Regions from separate parts of the Homo sapiens genome. Here region 2 is linked to region 1. The links are contacts of gene promoters, found by promoter capture Hi-C in blood cells and fetal thymus (Javierre and others, 2016). All regions are on one chromosome and are shown on one strand. Each heading gives the region's core, a stretch centred on a gene start or on the middle of the fragment in contact. The rest is flanking DNA. Distances are from core to core; before and after follow the strand shown.

The links. Contacts are between HindIII fragments. The CHiCAGO score rates a contact against its expected background, and 5 or more counts as called.
Region 2: a fragment that was not itself captured here is called in contact with the fragment with the promoter of SUMO3 in region 1 in 5 of 17 cell types (total CD8 T cells, naive CD4 T cells, naive CD8 T cells and 2 more); the score reaches 8.0 in total CD8 T cells.

The regions. Positions count from the first base shown.
Region 1 is chr21:44,814,645-44,821,119 of GRCh38, forward strand. SUMO3 (small ubiquitin like modifier 3) reads right to left here and starts at 3,418. Exons shown (of 4, transcript NM_006936.3): 1 at 3,304-3,418. The coding sequence starts at 3,324. RefSeq lists an enhancer at 756-1,270 and silencers at 2,950-3,149, 3,330-3,909, 3,930-4,029. The HindIII fragment of the contact is 14,551 bases long and covers 1-6,475 here.
Region 2 is chr21:44,495,759-44,502,233 of GRCh38, forward strand. It overlaps TSPEAR (thrombospondin type laminin G domain and EAR repeats), which reads right to left. Exons shown (of 12, transcript NM_144991.3): 12 at 2,135-4,178. The coding sequence ends at 4,025. Among named protein-coding and RNA genes, the nearest start is that of TSPEAR-AS1, 7.0 kb to the right of the region's middle. The HindIII fragment of the contact is 161 bases long and covers 5,146-5,306 here.

The sequences.
Region 1 (6,475 bases), core at 2,168-4,667:
GGAACCCTATGGGACATTCAAGTGGTGATTTCGGGAATCCAACTGAGGACGGCCACTCCCCACAGCAGGCGGCCAGGCTCCTTCTCGCTGCCCTGACATCAGCAAATGTGAGGGAAGCCACCTCCGAGTACTTTCTGGTTTCAAACTGTCCTATCTGAGCGGCAGTAGGTGGTACTATTTTATTTTTTAATTCATGCCATACTTGAAGCTACTCAACAATGGCACAATCGGGGTGTCTTGTTGCCTGAAAATGCATTTTGAGTTGAGGCAAAAAGCTGATGTCAAGAGACTGGGAGCCAACTTCGGGGCAGCTCAGTCTGAGCCGAAAAGTGGGGCACCCCTCTGCCGGCCTGCACTGCTGGGATAAAGTCGTTTGTGAGTGAAGCAATGAGGCAGGGCCCTCCGGCTCACTCTGAAAGTCAAGTCTGGGGCGTCCTGGTACCCTTTCACCCCATGCTGAGCTGCTGCCCTCAGGAAGCACTGTACATCACACGCCTGTTCTCTCCACTTCTCCTTTCCTTCCCTGGCTGGGAGAGGGACAACTGTCCCAGCGATGCCTAAATACAGGGAGTGGGATGTAGAAGGCTCGCCTGAGGGTGAACCCAGGGACTGCACCCATGCTTGCTTCCCTGGGGTATGCACCCTGGGGAGACCCTGGGGAGGCATGGTGCTCTGTCAAGGGAGCTAGAGTGGCCTGCAAGGGGCCTTGGCAGTGAGGGGCTCCAGCTGCGAGCCTGAAGGTGCGTGTCCTGGGGCGGCACTCACCCCCCGACTCCAGTCTTGGGCCAGACACCCCTGCCCACTCCCGGGATGCCAGTGGCTTGGCGGCAGCCTGAGTGGTGAGCTGGCACACCCCCATCTCCCCATCCCGAATGTGGCCTCCAGCACAGAGACAACTGGCCTAGGAAGGAAGAGCATGCAAACAGCTCCAGGCAGGATGGAAGTGGGGACCCCTGCATGAGCCCCCTTCACTTCCCCAAGCATGAGGATGCACTGGCTTCTTTAGGGAAGGAAGGTATGAGTGTGTTCAAAGGCACAGATGCAGGGCCCAGACGTCCCCCACAGGGTAATGGCTGCAGCCCCGGGGGGAATGGCTGCAGCCCCGGGAGAGGCTGGGGCAGGGCAGGGCCGGCCACAGTGCCTCTGCTCCAAACAGAATGACGATCTGTCCCAGACCCCTGGTGAATTCCTAATAAGCAAGTGAACTCGTGAGTTAAAAAGTGAAGCCCTAAAAACATGGGCCTCAGTTTGCTACAGTCAATCCTCCACCTCAGCTATCCAGGGAAGTCAGAACCATTCTCCTGCCTGACCTAAAAGCTCTTCTTTCCAGCACCACCGGGCCCCAGAGTCCACCTCTTCCCCTTCGTCAGAGCCCCAGAGGGCAGAGCTGCTCCCACATGGGCTCAGAGGGGACCCACCAGAAGCGGGGCCTGTGAGGTGGCAGCCACTCAGTCATTCTGGAATTAAACAAGTGTTTTCAACGGAACTGGAGCCTGAGATTGACCACATGGCAGAGCTAAGTGTAAATACTGCTGAGAAAATTAATATCATATGTATTTTATTACATTTACTCTTCATTAAGAGGAAGCCACCTACAAAAACATAAAGGACATTTATATTTGACCTAGTTTTAACAAGTATTTAAATATTCAAACAACCCCAGAGTGGGAGAACTTTGACTTCACTGGAGTCAAAATGTAAAAAGCAAAGGTCACCCCAAATGCCATCTGGATAGGGCAGGTTTCCCTGGAGTCTGACCACAGCAAGCAGAGTGCAGACTTCCATAGAGGCCGCGACCATGGTTCCTGACGGTTCCATCCCACTTCCCGCCAGTGTCTGGCACTGAGCCTCCACCCTCATCTGTAAAGGGAGGGTGGTCACCTCCAGGACCAGGCCAGTATCAGAGACAGCCTCTTTACAGAGCCTTCAGCTCTAGTCATCTTCCACTGGGATGTAACATAGAGGCCGACAGTGCACACCAAGGGCTTCGGAAAGGTTCTCTTTTTATGAACACTGGAGAATGCGACTACAGACCCTCCCGAGAAGGAATGGCCAGTGCACCTGAATGCAGGGTGCATACCCCAGGACTGAGACTGGAGGGAGGCACACCCCAGCATGGCAATGGGGGAGACTAAAGCCCACCCAAGGCTGGATAAGGAGGGGTGGGCGCGCATGGTGGGGGAGGCGCAATGCAGAGAAGTGGGCGCACACCGTGGGGCGTGATAGGGAGGGGTGGGCACACACTATAGGGGGCGTGATGGGGAGGGGTGGGCGCACATCGTGGAGGGGGTGATGGGGAGGGGTGGACGCACACTGGGGGTGTGATGGAAAGGGGGACGCGATGGATAGGGGTGGGCGCACACTGGGGGACGCGACGGGGAGGGGTGAGCACACACTGGGGGTGTGATGGAGAGGGCGACGCAATAGGGAGGGGTGGGCGCACACCAGGGACGCGATGATGGGGACGGGTGGGCGCACACCAGGTGGCATGATGGGGAGGAGTGGGTACACACCATGGGGGGCGTGATGGGGAGGCGTGGGCGTACACCGGGGGGCGCGATGGGGAGGGGTGGGCGCACACCGGGGGACGCGATGGAGGCGGTGGGTGCACACGGGGCGCGATGGGTGGGAGTAGGTGCACACTGAGGGCACGATTGGGGAGACACGAAGGAGAGGGGTGGGCGCACACTGGGGGACGCGATGGCCGGGACACGATGCGGAGAAGTGGGTGAATACCGGGGTCGCGATGGGCGCCCTGGAAGGACGGCAGTGCTGCTCACAGGGGCCAGGCCCCTCAGAGCGCGCCCCTTGGGGGTAACCCCAGACGCTTGTTCCCGAGCCGACTCCGTGCACTCGACACAGGATCCCGCACCCAGGGCGATGCCGGGGGAGAGGGCGACCCCAACCAGCAATGACTCAGGAGAGGAGCACGCAAAGACGCTTCGGGGACACTGCTGGGGCGGGATCCGAGGGCGCCGCGCTCTGCAGGAGCAGCAGCGCGGGGCCCGACACCGGGCGCTCAAGGAGGCGCTGGGCGCGCGCCTTCCCAGCTGGGGAGGAGACGGGCGTGGAGCGGAGGCGTGGCCAGGCCCGGAGGGGGCGGAGCTCGCGGCACAGCGCGCTTCGCGGGGGCAGAGGGGGCGCACCTTGGGCGGGCCCACTTAGGGGCGGGGCTCTAGAGGGCGGGGAGGGGCGGAGCCTGTCAGGGGCGGGACGCGGGGCGGAGTCGGGGTGGGGGCGGAGCCGGGCTGGGGGCGGGACGCCCGCGATAGACGCGCGTGCAGGCGGGGTCGCCGCGCTTACCTTGGGCTTCTCCTCGGACATGGCTGCGCGAGCGGCGCGGGGAGGCGGCGCGGGGGAAGCAGCGCGGAGCGGGCGAGTCACGCTCTCGGCCCCGCCGCTCTCCCGCCGCAACTGTGCGCGGGGCCGCGCTTTATCCCCCAAATCCCGGCGCACCCGTTGGCCGGCACGGGGGTCACGTGGCTGCGCGCGTTCACGAGGCGCGCTCCCCGGGGCGTCGGGCGCGCGCAGGCCGGGCCGCGGCTCTGGGCGGTTGGAGATGCGTCACGGGGCGGGTCCCGCGCGACCCCGTCGGGCGCGGAAGCCCTAGGGCGCTGTGGGGCGCGGGCCAGGAGCGTTTACGGGGAGCCCGGGCCCTGGGGACCCTTGCCCGCCTCCCCGCGTCGCCCGGGCCCCGACTCCTTTCCTGGGGGCCGCGTTCCTGGGGCGCCGGGAAGTGAGGCCGGGGCCGCCGCCCATGGCCGCAGGGACCTGGGGCGGAGGAGGGAGGACGCTGGGGGTGACGTTCCCTCTCAGGAGCCGCGGACAGAGCGGAGAAGGCGGCCCGCGGGGTCCCGTCCGCGGGGGCCGCGCGAATCGGGCCAGCACCCTAGACGATTGGGGGCGCCACCCGCCTCCCTGCCGCCGCGGTTTCCTGTCAGCCCCAGGCCGGGCTCCTTTGGCCAACGCTCCTACGGGGCTGCCCCGGGCCCTCCACACCCGTCCTCAAGAAGACCCGTTTTACCTGTGAAGAAACTGAGGCACTGGGAGGTCAAACCACCCCCAGGTCAGCGCTGGTGAGCGGCGCCGAGCTTGGCCAGGCCGCCACGTCGGCGAGCGCGGGCAAACCCAGGCTGGACGCCGCCAGTGCCGGCGGAACGGGGACCTCGTGGACGCGGGAAACGCGCTGGGCCGGCAGGACGGCCTCCCCGGACTTGCGGGCGCCATTCCTGGGGTGCCTGGCCCGCCCCGGCCTCCATGTCTGTGATCCCAGGGCCTCGGATGGAACGGACCTGAGGGCGGACACCCCTGCGTCCCTCAGGAGTGCCCGGGTGGTGCCAGCCGGGGCGTGGCGGAGGTCTCATCTGATGGTGAGCCCGGCCGAAGGCGGGGGAGGCCGCACTTCAGGCTCAGCTGGGAAATGGCAGGGCCTGGATTTGAACCTAAGCGTCTGAGCCGTTTCTGTCCTGCCTGGGAAAGGCTCAGCCAACTGAGCAACGTCGCAAAGCCATGGAGACAAGTCTTCATGGACCATAACTTCACAAACCGTCTTCTACTCAAAAATTCACTTTCTTGGCTAGAGCCCCCACTTAGGAGGGGGAAGGCTGCTGAAGTCTTTCGGGGAGAGGGTCTGAGAGTCAGCCCCAGTCCCAGGCAGGTCATAAGGTGTGGTCCCTTCCTTCTGGAACCTGGAGCCCAGGGCCTCAGCAGAGGATGTGGAGGTGGGTGGCCAGCTCAGACGGTCCTGGGAGGGGGCTCCGCAACCAGCCCCTTCCGAGGGGACGTGGCGCCTCAGAGCCCACAGATTGCTGGCCCTGGAAGTGCCCTAGGGCAGGCAGGGTTCAGAGAGTTATCGACTCCAAGACACCGTTAATCATAAAACAACACGACCGTAGGTAGCACAGACACACTAAACTCCGGCAGGCTGTGGATGACGGCAGCCCGCTTCAGTGTTGTGGAAGTGAGAAACACGCAGCTTAGAAATCATGAGACACAGAACCCAAATGTGTTACCGCTCGAAATTACGCCAGTTGCTGTGTCACGAAGTGATGCGTGACTACAGTCATGGATAAGGGAAAAAGAGGCTCAGATGACATTAGGTTTTAAAAAGCCAGGCTATAAGACAATGGTGGTCTGAATTCAATTCATGCTGTGTCTGTCTCCCACACTGTGACCTGCCCCGAATCCTTCATGTGACAGCAAAGATGCAAAAAGGCTCTGTCGCAGCTGTGGGGACACAAAGGACACCGCTGGTGGACCGAACGCCAAGAGGTTTCTGAAGGACACAGCCAAAGGGGATCGAATGGACGGAGGAACCAGAGCTCAGGAAAAACCGTGGCCTACCACGAGCACAGGGTAAAGAACCCAAATGGCCAGAGCCCCTCCGGAGGGTCGCCACACCTGGCGATGGTCCCAACAAGAAGACTCATGAGAAGGCAGGGAACTGGCAAATGAGTAACAGCATTGCTGACATGAAAGCTCGACCCACATGTGACTAGGAGAGGGGTCCTGGCTGAGGACGCAAAGAACTGCGAGACAAAGTCACAGGACTCTCCCATGATGGAGAAGTTAAGAGAGGAAAGGTCAGGGCTGGGCTGGGTGGCTCATGCCTGTAATCCCAGCACTTTGGGATGCTGAGGCTGGTGGATTACAAGGTCAGGAGTTCGAGACCAGCCTGGTCAACATGGTGAAACCCCGTCTCCACAAAAAAATTAGCCGGGCCTGGTGGCGCATGCCTGTAATCCCAGCTGCTTGGGAGGCTGAGGCAGGAGAATCGCTTAAACCCAGGAGGCAGAGGTTGCAGTGAGCTAAGATCGTGCCGCTGCACTCCAGCCTGGGCAACAGGGTGAGACTCCATTTCAAAAAAAAAGAAAAGAGAGAGGGAAGGTTGGAAGGCCGAGACACCGGGCATCAGTACAGGAAGGGCTACGTCCACCTGACAGGAGCTGCAGGAGAAGGTGGAAAAAAGGAAACCAGGACAAAATCAAAGACAGAATTGGAGAAAATATCTCTGAGGCCAGGCACGGTGGCTCACGCTTGTAATCCCAGCACTTTGGGAGGCTGAGGCAGGCGGATCACCTGAGGTCAGGAGTTTGAGACCAGCCTGAGCAACATGGTGAAACCCCATCTCTACTAAAAATACAAGAATTAGCTGAGTGTGGTTGTGTGTGCCTGTAATTCTGGCTCCTTGGAAGCCTGAGGCTGGAGAATCAGCTTGAACTCAGGAGGCAGAAGCTGCAGTGAGCCAAGGTCGCACCACTGCACTCCAGCCTGGGCAACAGGGCAAGACCCTATCTCAAAGAAAAAGTAAAAATAAGAAATTTCTCTGAACTAAAGAAATATTTGACTCCATAAATGGAAAGGGCCCCTGAGTATCCAATGGCTGAGTGAGAAGACTGACACAGATGCTTGGCATGTGAGGAGAAATCCCTGAGGCGTTCAGAGACGTTTCTACTTACAGTTAGGGAGGACTGGT
Region 2 (6,475 bases), core at 3,976-6,475, 320 kb before region 1:
GATTTACAAAGTCACTCTTGACCCTTTAAAATAACACAACTATTTTCTGCTCCCACCATATCTCAAGTGGCACCCAGATTGTGAGGCCTTCCATCCAGTGAGTAGTGTCAGCTGGAGAGGTGGTGACTGATTTAGGGCTCCGGTTTAGGGCTGAACCAGGGTCAGCTGCTTCTTTGTGTGTTGGTCCCCTTCTGCGGAAAGCAAAGGGATTGGACCAGATGATCGTGAAAGAACCTTCCGATGTTAAGATGTAGAGTTTCGATGGTTCCATGATAGAGAGGGATCACAGAAAAGCTCCACAAAGCTTAACCTCCCAGGGGGACAATTACAATAATGTGAAGTTAATGCTAACACAGGATAGTTTGATGTGGGTGTGACGGCATAGGGAGGTCGGGGGCCTGGAGGCTTCTCAGACTCATTCTCAGCACCAGATGTGGCATCAGGAACAGCCTGAAGGGAGGCTAAGGGATCCCGCCCTCTCCCCAGCTCTGAAGATGCCTCCACAGTGAAGAAGAGACAGGGAGCCCCCAACTCTGCACTTTCACTGGCTACTCCCACACTGCGGGGCAGGGGAGGAGGAAGACCCCAACACCTCCCACCACCGCTACAGACCCCGACCAAACGTCAGTTCTCACCTGCGCCACCGCCCCAACCACCCCTGAGAGCCATTAGGTGACAGTTGTGCTTCACCCGCAAAAGGTCTTCCTTTGCCAATTTTTGTCACAAGTTTTTGCATATTGTTTGCATAAATTTGCAGGTAGGATTCAAAAGGTCCTGATTCCAATTACACAAGAGAAAACACACTGACTGCAAGTGCAGTTGAAGAAGGTTCTCAGAAGGGCACGCTGGAACCGCTCCCCGGTGCCAGGAGAGGTGTTTGAACTACGTGCTGCTGGGGCGCCCAGACGGGCTTCCCCACGATCCAGGAAATCAGAGCTTTTGCAACGTTGGCTTGAAATCGTGGCTAACAAGACAGAAAAGTGCTCTTCTCAACCCCAGGGGAAGACTGGGGAGGTGGGCGGGGCCCCAGGGCCCACTGATTCCATCCAAGAGGGGGCATGGAAGGACAGCGGCGAGCCCACGTCTGGAGCTTCTCCCTCCTGTGAAAGGCAAACAGAATCCTGAGATGCCAAACTCACTGTTCCAAAGGGAAAGGGAAAGCTTGGAAATGGCGTCACGCAAAACCTGCCTCTCAGGAGAACCAGTCTGTTTCTGAACAGAGAGCTTGCAAGACGGCCGGCCATGTATCTCCCCGGGAGGCCTCCCACACTCTGACAGTGTCGATGAGCAGCTGATCCTCGCGAGTGTGGGACAAAAGACTAGGGCTTGCTTTTATTTTTGTTCAGGGACACAGAGCCAACACCACCAGCTACTAAAGGAATAAAACCACATCTTGCTTGTTTAAAGCAGTAAAGGAACAAAATTGCATAGGCCAGGAGGTGCTTTTGTGTCTCCAGCCGTGACTTCTGGTTAAACACTCGAGAAAAACACAGGCTTGGCTTTTTCTTCTTTTCTGTGTCTACTCTATCTGACGTCAGATGCAGGTTTGCTGAGTGCCAGGTGAGTGCCTAAAGGGCTGTTCCCCCACCTCCCCCTTTCACTTGCAACGTGCACTCAGTGCGTGCTAATTAAAGCCTCCCAGGAGCCTGACCACTGGCCTCATTGCCCACCCACCGTCTTCTCTCTCCCCCTTCCCCCTGCCCTCTCCTCTCCTCCTCTTTTAAATACTCAGCACCTCAAAATGCTCTCTGGAAAAGGCCTGGCCACAGGTCCTGCTGTGACTGGTGCCACTTTTTCCTGGGCAGATTCTCAACCTTGGCATCATAACCCTCTAAGCTGACTGAGACCTGGCTCAGACACTTTCAGTTTTGTGCTCCAAACACTGAGTGGTAACTTTACCCAGAAGTTCTTAGATTTTCAGCCACTCAAGCCAGGCTCTGATTTCCAAAATAAGTCCAGATCTAGAACAGTTTGGGGAATGAAGGGATCTGGCTGAGAGATGGGAGTTGGAACAGTTGCGACACCGTCAGCCTCACATGAACAGAAACAAATTACTCAAACAAGAGAAGAGCAAGGCCCAACTGGAAAAGCATGTGGGTGAGTCTGCAAACCAAAAAAGTACCCGACCCAGGCCTCGATCAATGGAGAAGTTTATTTTGCCAAGGCTAAGGATGCACCCAGGAGACAGGTCTGTGCCTCTCTCCCAAGATGATGTTGAAGGCTTCAGTCAAGGGGAAAAGCCGGCTGGAGGGGGCAGAGGGAGGAGGGTGTGGTCACATGACTGATTGCTCCATGCTGCAGGAGAAAAGGAGCAGGTGGGAACAGTCAGTTACCTGTTTATCTCGTGCTCAGTAAATTGGCACTTTCCATGAGATAAGGGGCACACAGAGCAGCCACTAGTGGAGATGCTGACCCTCTCATCTGCAGCTGTCTGCTTAGGGCAAAGGGAAAGGCAGCTTCCTGCAGGACTCAGCTTTCAGCTTTTTTCTTCTTGGTTGAGTGAATTGGGGTGTCGAGTTTTTAATCTTCCTTTCACAGGTGCTGACCCAATGAGGCCAATCATGTGTGATTGGGACCTTCTGAGTGACTTGGTGGAAAGCAGGGCCCAACCCTCCTGCCCAGGACGCTTGGGAAAGCCTTGCTGGCTGGACGGAGGGGAAGGAGGCTCTCGGCGACTGCCCCCAGAGGGGAGTGGCTCTCCACTGGCCACAGCGATGGCTGGAGTGAGACCTGAGCCCCGGAAAAACACGAAGGTCCCAAAGCCGGCAAAAGTAGACACTGAGTTTATTATTTGCCAGACAAGGGGAGGCTTCCATTTCATTACGAAAGGTCAGGAGTGCTCTCTGAGCTGAAGGTGAACAGACAGCTGCGGTGTAGGAAATAGGAAGTTTTGTCCACAGTTCTGATTGGCGGAAAAAGCACATTGTAAACTCTCTGAGGATCGCTCCTGTTCCGATTTGTGTTGCAGAAGCAGGAGCACCGTTCCTGGAAGACCGTGGCAGGTGTGGTCTGGGCTGCGTGGCCCCGGAGCCTGCTGTCTGAGCCTCTTCTCATGGAGTGGGGGTGGTTTCTCTGGCACCTACATGGGTTAAGAGGGAGGACCCCTGGGGCCTTGCGCCCATCACCCCCTCTCATCCTCACTGCCTGTGACGGACAGACAAGCAGCTCTCCCAGCTGCAGAGACAAGATGACCACAGGAGAGCCAGCAGAGGATGCTGTTACCAGGGAGCTAGGACAGCCAGCACACAGGCAGACGGAGGCACGCAGCCTGAGTCCCAGTCAGCTGGAGGACATGTGATTAAAATGCTGCTGAATAGGGAAAAAATCCCGGGCCCAGAAGTTGAGGTCCCTGTGGGTGGGGCCGTGGGGAGGGGGTGCGACCCAGGCCATGCCCAGGCTTGTGATTTCTGACCTCGCGCTAGTGCATTTACGGGTAAACTGAGGCTGGGAGGGAAGCCTCTCTCTGTATGGGGAGGTGGTCCTCTGTCCGTGTCCGTGGTGAGGGGCTGTGCCCACCCGCTGCCTAGAGAGGAGCACCGGTGCTTTTGTAAAGAGCAGTATAAATACACTTCCGTTCAGATAAAACACAATAAATAGGTGGCGGCAATGGCGGGACGGCACCACACCTGCTCAGGCGGCCGGACGCACACTGCAGGAGTGGCTGGCGAGAGGCCAGCCGCAGGGACATGAACCGAGGTCCTGTTGTTTGAGGTAAAAATGTATAGAAACGGTTCCTTGACAGCGAAATCCCCGCTTGACACTCAGATGGGCGAGCACTGGCAGGGGCTCTGGGCCTCTGCCTGCAAGACCAGACCGTCACTGGGGCTGTGGCTCAGAAGGACTCAGAGGTGGATGGATGTCCCTGCCCGAACCAGGGCCGCAGATGGCCCCACCTGCACCCTGCCTGATGCCCAGGCCCGGGATGCCCTAGGCTGGGCCCACCTGGACGTCCAGGGTCAGTTGGGGGAGGTGCTGGGGTCCCGCCCCACCTGGCCACCCCAGTTGCTGCCGGGCAGCCGCGGCCTCAGCGTGTCCTCAGCCGCAGGACCCTGGAGAGGGGCTCCTTGGCGCTGGAGTAGATGAGGTAGGCACCAGCCGTGGTGCTGAAGGCCTCCCAGTCCCTGCAGCCGACGGTGGGGAGGCTGTGCACCGCCACGAAGCCCTCGTAGCCCTGCCACCTGCGGAACAGACAGCGGCAGCCGGGTCAGCCTGGGCTCTGCGGGGCAGCTCCTCTCCCCCGGCTCCCACCCGCGCTGTCAGGGACCCAGCAGCTCTGGGTCACATCTGAGCCTCTTCCATCCCCCCGACTGGCACAGCGTGGGGAGATCGATTCTGGGCCATGAGGGCCTTCTCATCTTGCAAAGCAGGAGGCTGAGGCCCAGAAGAGGAAAGATTCCAGATCTCACCAAGATCCCAGCGCTACCTCCTATCCACCCAAGATCCTAACCCCGGGGACCCCCAAACGTGCAGTTCCGAGGGTCGGCCTCAATCGTGAGGTGCGTGACTTTCCCCAGGGCCCCCCTCAAACACACGCAGGCCACCACGCAGGCTGGAACCCCTCCGTCCTCAGATACAGGAGCCCAGCTCTCTGCCCGCTGCTCTGCGGCCCCACGTCAGGGGCTGCCCCAGGCCCTCATTCTTGCTCTGGGCGGCTGCTGGCCGCCAGGGTTTGCCTTCAAAAGGACTCATTTATCCCAGGAGCTTCCATTTCCGAGGCGTGGAGTCCCCAAGGCAGGGCGCCGACATCAAAGGGCACGAGTTGTTTACATTTAATATTAAATAATAAAGTATGAAAATAAATTCTTCCAGACTGCTTTCTGGAAAAACCGTGGTGGCTTCTGCTCTCACGGGAAAGGGCAGGGTGGGGTCCCCCTGGGATCCCCCAACCCACTCCACTGCCCATCTTTAACACACTTCCAAACAAATGGGGGAGAACCTGGCAGGGTTTTGCTTTGAGGACAAATCCCTTATAATGTTTATTCACACTGTTCATCTTTTCTTCTAAAAATTCATATTTATATCTTTTGTCCATTTTTCCAAATTTAAAGACACATTTTTTATTAGTTTGTAAGGGTTGGTTTTCTGTCGTGTGTGTGGTAAAGAGTTTGTCTTTTGCTTTTGAATAGGATGTCTGTTTCCATAGAAAGCTTTTAACACAGGTGGTCGACCCAGTGCCTTTCCTTCTGGGCTTGTCTTCTTCATAGAACCCTGAGGTTATACAACTGCCTTCAGCTTTTCTTCTTTTTCACATTTGGACTTTTAATCCATATAACATTTATTTTTGTGTACAATGTGAAGTGGGGGTAAGCTTTGTTTTCTTCCAGATTACATGAAGCTAATCTCCCGAATCATATGGAGTTATCAAGTAAAACCCATCCTTTTCTCATTGCCTTCAAATATAGCATTTATGGCCGGGCGGGGTGGCTTACGCCTATAATCTCAGCACTTTGGGAGGCTGAGGCGGGCAGATCACTTGAGGTCAGGAGTTCGAGAACAGCCTGGCCAACATAGTGAAACCCCATCTCTATTAAAAATACAAAAATTAGCCAGGCATGGGCTAGGCGCAGTGGCTCATGCCTGTAATCCCAGCACTTTGGGAGGCCGAGGCGGGCAGATCACAAGGTCAGGAGATCGAGACCATCCTGGCTAACACAGTGAAACCCCATCTCTACTAAAAAATACAAAACAATTAGCCAGGTGTGGTGGCAGGTGCCTGTAGTCCCAGCTACTCAGGAGGCTGAAGCAAGAGAATGGCGTGAACCCAGGAGGCGGAGCTTGCAGTGTGCCGAGACTGGGCCACTGCACTCCAGCTTGGGCGACAAAGCGAGACTCCATCTCCAAAAAGAAAAAATAAAATTAGCCAGGCATGGTTGGCCCATGCCTGTGGTCCCAGCGACTAGGGAGGCTGAGGTGGGAGGATTGCTTGAGCCTGGGAATTTCAGCCTGCAATGAGCTGAGGTTATGCCACTGCACTTCAGCCTGGGCTACAGAGTGAGACCCTGTCCCCCCCAAAAAATAAATAAGAAGGAGATATTATTAAAAAGGTACCCAGGCCCAGATGGCTTTATAACTGAATTTAACCCAGCTGTCAGAAATGAGAGAAAAAATCCTATTCTTCAGACTATCCCAGTCCACAGGTGCAGTTAGAAAGCCCTGCAGTGTGTATTTACTGTTAGGCTTCATTTTAAACTGGATAAAGTTAAGTCCCCAAAAGAAAACCACCGAGCAATCTAATTTCCTATTATAGATGCTAAAAGCTTAAAGACAGGCAATTGGAAGCCAGTGGCTTATTCAATAATTCTGCATCATCACCAAGTGGCATCGGGTCTAATAACGCGAGGAGATGTCTCACTATAAATCATGACATCAACAGTAAACATAGTGGACCGCACCACGCACTCACAGATGCCAAAGGAGACCTCAGCCCTGGCCCGGATGGCCCACAGCCCATCAAACGGCCATGCTCAGATGTGCT